Regions from separate parts of the Homo sapiens genome. Here region 1 is linked to region 2. Evidence: promoter capture Hi-C in 16 types of primary human blood cells and fetal thymus (Javierre and others, 2016). All regions are on one chromosome and are shown on one strand. The core of a region is centred on a gene start or on the middle of the fragment in contact, and the rest is flanking DNA. Distances in the headings are between cores, read along the strand shown. Region 1 has its middle 28 kb from the start of PSKH2. Region 2 holds the start of LRRCC1 (leucine rich repeat and coiled-coil centrosomal protein 1).

The links. Contacts are between HindIII fragments. The CHiCAGO score rates a contact against its expected background, and 5 or more counts as called.
Region 1: a fragment that was not itself captured here is called in contact with the fragment with the promoter of LRRCC1 in region 2 in 1 of 17 cell types (total B cells); the score reaches 6.2 in total B cells.

What each region holds. Positions count from the first base shown.
Region 1 is chr8:86,039,576-86,043,299 of GRCh38, reverse strand. It overlaps the pseudogene RPL32P4. Among named protein-coding and RNA genes, the nearest start is that of PSKH2, 28 kb to the left of the region's middle. The HindIII fragment of the contact is 2,354 bases long and covers 741-3,094 here.
Region 2 is chr8:85,105,936-85,109,826 of GRCh38, reverse strand. LRRCC1 (leucine rich repeat and coiled-coil centrosomal protein 1) reads right to left here and starts at 2,589. Exons shown (of 19, transcript NM_033402.5): 1 at 2,428-2,589; 2 at 27-232. The coding sequence starts at 2,531. It overlaps LOC105375933 (a long non-coding RNA gene), which reads left to right and starts at 1,965. Exons shown (of 3, transcript XR_929117.3): 1 at 1,965-2,268. RefSeq lists an enhancer at 2,418-2,477. The HindIII fragment of the contact is 5,185 bases long and covers 956-3,891 here.

The DNA.
Region 1 (3,724 bases), core at 668-3,167, 930 kb before region 2:
GTTTTTTTGTTGCGCCCATAACCAGTGTTGGGCATCAAGATCTGGCCCTTGAACTTTCTACGAACCATGTTGTCAATATCTCTGGGTTTCCCGTCAGTTACGCTTAATTTTGACATGTTTGTCTAACTGGTGCTAGATGAACTTCTTGGTCCTCTTTTTGATGATCTTGGGCTTCATGAGGGATCTGAGAACGGCCATGATGCCATGGAGAAGATGACTGCCATCTCCATAGGCAGTACCGAGGAAGACAGCTTTGCTTGCCATATTTTAAAAATGTTTGTTTAAAAGATCTACTTCAATGACATATACAGAATGTTAATGACTATGTTTTGAAGGGTTCTATAATGTTTAACATAACCTGTAGAACAGAAATCATGCTCACATGAGTTGTAGTCACCTTTTCATACTATTGTATATTATACCATTGTCTATTAGCTACATATAAATACGTGATGGTGAAAAATGAATAGAATTCTGGAAAGTTAAAATCTTTAGGCTAATGTACACTTTCCATTTAATATGACTAATAATGATTGACTTGTGCTTGGGATTTTTTTAAAACTTTTACTACAGATGCTTTATTTATTTATTTTAAATTTTACTTTTTTATTTTTTGAGATGAGGTCTTACTATAATGGTAGGTTGGTCTTGAACTCTTGGCGTCAAGCAATCCTCCCACTTCAGCCTCCCAAGGTCTTAGGATTACAGATGTGAGCCGCCACAACTGGCCATTAGAAGCTTTACTTTAAAAAGTGATTTTTAACAAGAATTAAATTCACAGAGGGAGGTTCTAAAACCTTAAACATGAGTTAATATGACCTCAATTTCAATCTTGAGACCTAAGACGGTGCATTAGTTTCCTAGGGCTGCTGTAATAAAATACCACAAACCAGGTGGCTTAAAACAACAGAAATTCATTCCCTCACAGTTCTGGAGGACAGAAGTCCAAAATCCAGGTGTCTCCGGGTTTGGTTCCTTCAGGAGGCTCTGAGGGAGAATCTGCTCTGTCCCTCTCTCCCAGCTTCTGGTGGTGGCCAGCAGCCCTTGGCGCTCCATGGCTCATGGCTGCCCACCTGTTTCTGCTGTAGTCTTCACTTGGCTTTCTCCTCTGTGTGTCCCTGTGTCTTTTCCTTTTCTGTCTTTTATAAGGATTCTCATCAATGGATTTAGGGTTCCATCCTATTTCAGGATGATTTCATCTCTAGATCCTTACCTTAATTACATTTGAAAAGACTCATTCCAAATAAGGTCACAGTCTGAGGTTCTGCTTGGATGTATCTTTTAGGGGTCACTGTGCCACCCACTACACATGGAAATCATCATCTGTGGTTTGCAGCTTTGAAGAAAATATGTGGTATCTTCCCTGAGCCCTGGTGTCCTAAACCACTTTCTTTGTCTTTCTCTTGTCTCTGGCCTTGGCTTTATGGCCCTACTTTCAATGTTTTATGAAATGGTGCTTTCAGTATTAATTAGTGGATTTGTTCAGAACAATATTCTATGTAATTGTTCCAATTCCATAAAATTATGTAATTACATTCTATTTCTTGGTATATAAATTCAGGAAAAGAGAGAATCTTATTTGCCTCTGAGAAATAATGAATTGAAAGTACCAGATATTACTGTCTGTTTATTTATTCATTTTCCTGTTTTAAAGGTTTTAAGGTATCTTACGTAAATAGATAAAAATGAGATAAAAGGCCACTTGAATTGAGTGGAAAAGGAATGCAGGAAAAAAAACCCCTGAAAGTAGGAGGGATAGGAAAAACTAAGATAATATTCTCACATAAAAATTAGAAACAAAAATATAAAACATTTAAACCCATAAATTACAGAAGGCGACTTTATATTTGACTTCGTTTTCTGGTAATCCCTTCAAAGAAGAAAGCAGATACATGCTTCAATGTGGTCATAAAATTACAACAAATAATTTTAATTAGTTGCTTGAGGGAAGCACATTCATTCCTGACCCAGACTGAAAAGAATTTCTTGTGGGATCTCCCAGGGAGGATGTACAATGTAATTAACAAGTGCAATGCAATCAGCAACATCCTCGTAGTAAACACAGTGAGCAGTTTCCACAGGTTCTTGTTCATAATGTCCCTCAATGTCGGCCAGTGGGTAATTTGATGAAAACAAGTCCAGGGAGCTCAAAAGAACATGGTCCAGGGATGGAGCTCCATGTTTGTCTGGATTACTGGAGAGAGGGATTTTTAGAAGATTCAAATGAAGGAATAGCTTACTTGCTTTTCAAATAATATTCCAGAAATATTGTTTCTCACCCTGATTTTGGTTTGCACTGCACAGCAGTGATTCCAGGTCCTACACGTGACATTACCTGCAAGGTGGCTGCCTGCAGTGCCAGCTCAGGGCACAGCCATGTGGGTGAGCTGGCAGCCAGTGGGCTGGGCTGACAACCTGTGCCACACACACGCTGGACAGAAGCTGCCTCCCCTCCACATGGAGGTGGGATGAGGGCATATCCTTGGATGCCACCAGGATTTTCTTCAGAAATTGGAGCCTGCTGCAGTGCCCAAAAGAAGGGGCAACAAAGGCCACCAAAACTCCACAGTAAATGGCATGGATTATTTTAATATTTGAAAAACCTTAAAGTGACTGTGGCAAAATACTTACTTCTGATACATAAAATAAATTTCATAAAGTGTCACATGATTTTTATTGTTAGTGTCCCCTCTTGGTGTACCTTCTTCTAAAATAAACTGGCATAAAGAACTGTTTCTAGGGAAATTGAATGAATTAGTGTGTTATGTAGAATTAATATCTTTATGCTAGTTAAAAGTTGGGGAACCTCTGATGAAAATGATGACTTGGATTTAAAAATAGATCTCTAGTTCTTCTTCCCAGCAGATATCCTATAGGAGGGTCATTTATCTATTGAAAGCATACCTAGTTTGTGATAAGAGAGCCTCTTCATCTATATTTTGGCTACTTATGATTTTATTTTTATAGGATTCCTTATCAATTATTAACACATTTTCTTGATAATAAATCATCTAGGCACAGATGGAATCTCCTCCCACTGGTGAAGGCAAATGCTTGTCTCAGCAGAAGAGCAGAAAAGTAAGAGCAAGAAGCTTTTCCTTGGATACTTTATGCCACAGCAAAGCCAGAGAGAAGCCAATTACATTTGCTTCCCATGATGCTGCAAAGGTTTGGGGAGAGTAGGAAAATCTTGGACTTTTATATTGAGTCCTTGATCACCCACACCTCCTAGCCCCCTTCAACATCAACACCTCCGGCATTTAAAAAGTGGGGCAGTGAGTCTGTAGCAGGAGGATGCAGAGGCTGCTGCGTGTTTACGGAGCCGTCCAGGGGATTAACCGACTGGGTTCAGCTGGGTAGTTCTCTTTTGGATCTAGAGGCGGAGATCTCCTTGTTCTCACAAAATGTCTAAAGTTAGATTCATGCCCCAGGCAGGTCTCCTGGTACCAACTTGGTGTGGCGGCTCTGGCCACAGTTTAGAGCAACTTCAGAAGCATGCTGTTTCACTCTGTGCCAGAGCTGGCTTCAGTTTTGAAGCGATTAGCGAAGCTCAGCGCTGGGCGCCTTGCATTAGCATTGCTTCAGCGCTAAGGACATTCCTGGCCACAGTCACTGCCATTTTCCCCTACCCACAGGTGTGAGTTAGAGACAAGCAGAATAGTGAGCAGGGGGTGGATCATGCGGGAGAGAGCTTTTCATGGCCTTTAGGACAGACTTGTGCTTA
Region 2 (3,891 bases), core at 1,340-3,839:
GTGTTAAATGAAAATCACTTACAAACCTTCTACTTTTGTAATCAAATTGCAGGACAAATTTAATGTGCACAGTTTTGTCAGTGTGTTTAGTCCTTCAATTCTACTTATTTGATTAGATGACAGATCTAGATGTTGTAAATTCCAAATATGATCAATGGCTTCGATCTTGGAGATGTTATTGCAATGAAGATTGACGGCATGAAGAGTTGAATCTAAAGATAATTCTGATATGCTATAAAAGAAAATATATACTATAAAAATAGATTTTAAAAGCATGACCAAATAACTAAAATTAACCAAACAGCACGTAGATACTAAATATGTGCTCTATTCATTCTAGAATGAAATCTTTCCTATTTGTGGTACCTTTGAAATGTCTCACAAAACACGGTGCTTCTTACAACACAACCAAGTATTTTGGATTATTTATACAAACAAGAAACCGCTCAAGGCAGGCAAGTGACAGTGGGCATTTCTAACTCCTGTGTGCAGTCATCAGCATATATTGAAGGCAGTGCTGAATAGTAGTCAATAACTGTAAAGGCTTTGGAATGTTAATATCCCAGTTTGAATCTGCATTCTATCACGGTTTTGCTGTGTGATTTGAGCAAATGACAACCTGAGCCTCAGTTTTCTTACCTCAATTAATTCTCACAATAACTCTAAGCAGTGGGTATCTTAAGGATACCTAAATTTATGGAAATTAAATAGCTTGCCCAAATTCTTGCAGCTAACAGAGCATATGTAAATCCAGATCTCATGCTGGAGATTATAACTTTATTTTCTTCTTTGTGTGCAATAGCTATTTAATCCACAGTCTATTGCATTTTCAAAAACAAACCATGTTATTGCAATTCCTATTGAAAAAGTCCCTGTCCTCCCTTGTTGAAAGTTAATGGATCTCCCCTAAACAGAACTCATCTCTTCACTCCAATTACTATTTATAACTGAAGCTTCTCCTGAAGATAGTAGTTCCAGGAACACAAACTACAGCATACACAGTTTGGAGTTGCTAGATGGGAGATACACCCAGGAACACACAATGTCACGGGCATCTGCTGTAGGTTGAGTAGCAGCTATCTTACAGCTGTAGGAAACCTAACTCTGACAGCAGGGAAGCATTTGCAAATTTCAAACTAGCAACCTTTAAATGTGACTATCTGGGGCATTTCCCACTTATCCTGCTGTGTCATTTACTTGAGTTCTTATTTAGTGCCAGACCTTATGCTGTTAACACATGCTCTTAATGACAGTCATTTACTTTCTGACACATTTCAGTTTCTCGACATTAATAATGTGCAGATAATGTGAGATAGAAAAAGCATAGTGAAATTAGACGGAAAATGGGTTTGAATCCGAACTTAATTCTTCATGAAGTGTATAAAGATGAACAAATTGTCAATAGATTCTGAGTCTCATTCATCACTTGTAAATGAGAAAAATTACTACCTTGTAGAATTGCTGTGAGGATTACTGATAATGTATATAACATGCACACAACAGATAGCATTCAGTAAATGGCAGCTAGTATTAAATAGAAATGTAAAATGTCCCTTGAACAGCATCTTCTTGGGATCATCTGGCAAAGTTTAAATCAGAATCCAGAACAAGATGCTTAATTATCAGTAGCAGAGTTCGCGTAGAGGACACGCTACAAAGGAACAGCATGTGCAAAGGCACAGAGAAGTCTGCTATGGAATTGCCTGTAGCTCAGTACAGGTAAATAAAGTGTAAGTGGAGAAATGTTACGGGTCGAGACTAAAGAGCCTGAAATGCAGGTGGAGACCTGCTTTACAGTATTACAGAACCAAGTGCCTCATATGCTTTGCACAAGTCAGGGCTTCAAGAGAGAGGGAAACGATGAACTAAATATAGTAAGTTTAGTACTTTCAAAAAGTATATGAATATATGTATTGCAATGTTCTGTAACGGACAAATGATTTCGAATGCAGACAAGGAGAACTGAGGCAAAACTAACAGGCAGCAGCGACTGCCCGCTCATAGCTGCCAGAGATACTATCCTGCAGGTTTTTTTCAGAGGTAAGAACAGGAAAGACGAGAGAACACGAGAAAACCAGCAATTAAACGGCAAGCAAAGGAATAACCACCAGTAAGTAAGGAAAACCAGCAGAAGGAAAGAGTGGTCAGAAGCTGGTGGAGGACAAGGTCCTGGGGCAGTTTCTAGGCTAAGCAGAGTCGTGTGAAACGCTGGGCAGGAGACACGGGCGGGAAGGCATCCACGGCTCATTCAACCTGGCACTTCGGCAGGTAAGTTTTGGAGGAGCGGGGAGGCCGAAAGCCAGACTGCGTTCACTTATGGTCTTGGTAAAGCAGTGCCGCGCCTCCACTCTGGTGTCGCCGCCAGCCACTCGTGGCCCCGGCTCTGGGGAGTGCGCGGGTCGCTCCTGGCTGCGGAGCGCCCTTTACCTCTGCAAGCCTTTGTCCATGAAGCATACATCCCCGCAGCTGCTGTCGCCGTCTTCGTTTTCCACTTCCGCCTCTGCCGCCACCACCGCCGCCGCCGCCTCCATAGCACTGGCGACGGGGAGCGGGGTCTTAACCGGCACCCAGCGAGGGGTCCGTGAGCTTGGGACAAGCCTCCCGGAAGCGCGGAAGGGCGGCCCGAGGGGGCGGGGCGGGGCGAGGACCCACCCTCCAACCGACAGCCGGGAACTTTCCCGCCTTGACGGTGACGCAAAACTGGAATCCTCGTCCCAACTGTGGGCTTCTTTCGTTTTTACAGCATCTGCGGTGCGACTCTTGAACTTGCTGTAAAGTAAAACTGCTTCCCGGGCGTGTAGGAGCTGGAGAATGAATGGATTTGTCCTGTGTGCTTCTGTATATTTGCCTAGTAGCCGACTGACTTCTGAAGGCGGTTTTCACAGCGGTTTGGCTTTACGTGCCTTTACATAGCCTTACATACGTATAAATTGTTCCTCTGGCCATTGCACCTCCTGTTGATTCATTGAACAATTTGTGGGATGCCTTACTGTATGTCAGTCACTTCCCTGTATGAGGAAGAAAAAGATGAAGCCTATTCTTGTTCCTGGAAACATTCGCAGCCCCATAGAGGAAACAGAATTGCCATACAGTATGACGAATGCTAAGAATAACACAAGGGCATCGAAACCAACTCTAGAGTGATATGGGTAGTGGGTACGTTTTCTAAAAGAAGTGATTGATGACTGAATAGAGTCTTGCTGGGTTAGGGGGAGTTCTGGATGAATGGCATTACAGGTGGGAAAGCAATACCTGTGTGAGGTCAAATAACCCTCCTGGCTAGATTGCTTCCTAAGGCATAGTAATATTTTAAAACGGAGCAAATGGTGCAGTAGTCCATTTGAAGTGGACTATTTCCTTTTGAAATAACTCATATAGACAAAAATAAAAAAGATGTTTTAAAAAATGAGCAAAACCCACATGACATGTAGGACACCATAAAGTGACCAAATATTCAAAATTTTGGAGTCTCAGAAGGCAAAGAGAAAACAATAGAGTTGGAAAAATGGTTCAACAAAATACTATATGAAAACTTCCCAAGTCTAGCAAGAGATTTAGACACCCAGGCACAGGAGGCCAAAGGTTCCCAAACAGATACAATGCAAAAAGGTTTTCTTTTAAAAAAAATTTCATCTCACTTTTTATTTTAGATTCGGGGGTACATGTGCAGGTTTGTTACATAAGTATATTGCACGATGCTGAGGTTGTGGCTTCTAATGATCCTGTAACCCAAATAGTAAATATAGCGCTTGATAGGTAGTTATTCAACTCTTGCCTTCCCCCTTTTGGAGTCCCCAGTGTCTATTGTTCCCATCTTTGTGTTCATGTGTATCCAGTGTTTAGCTGCCACTTGGAAGTGAGAACATATGGTATTTGGTTTTCTGTTTCTGT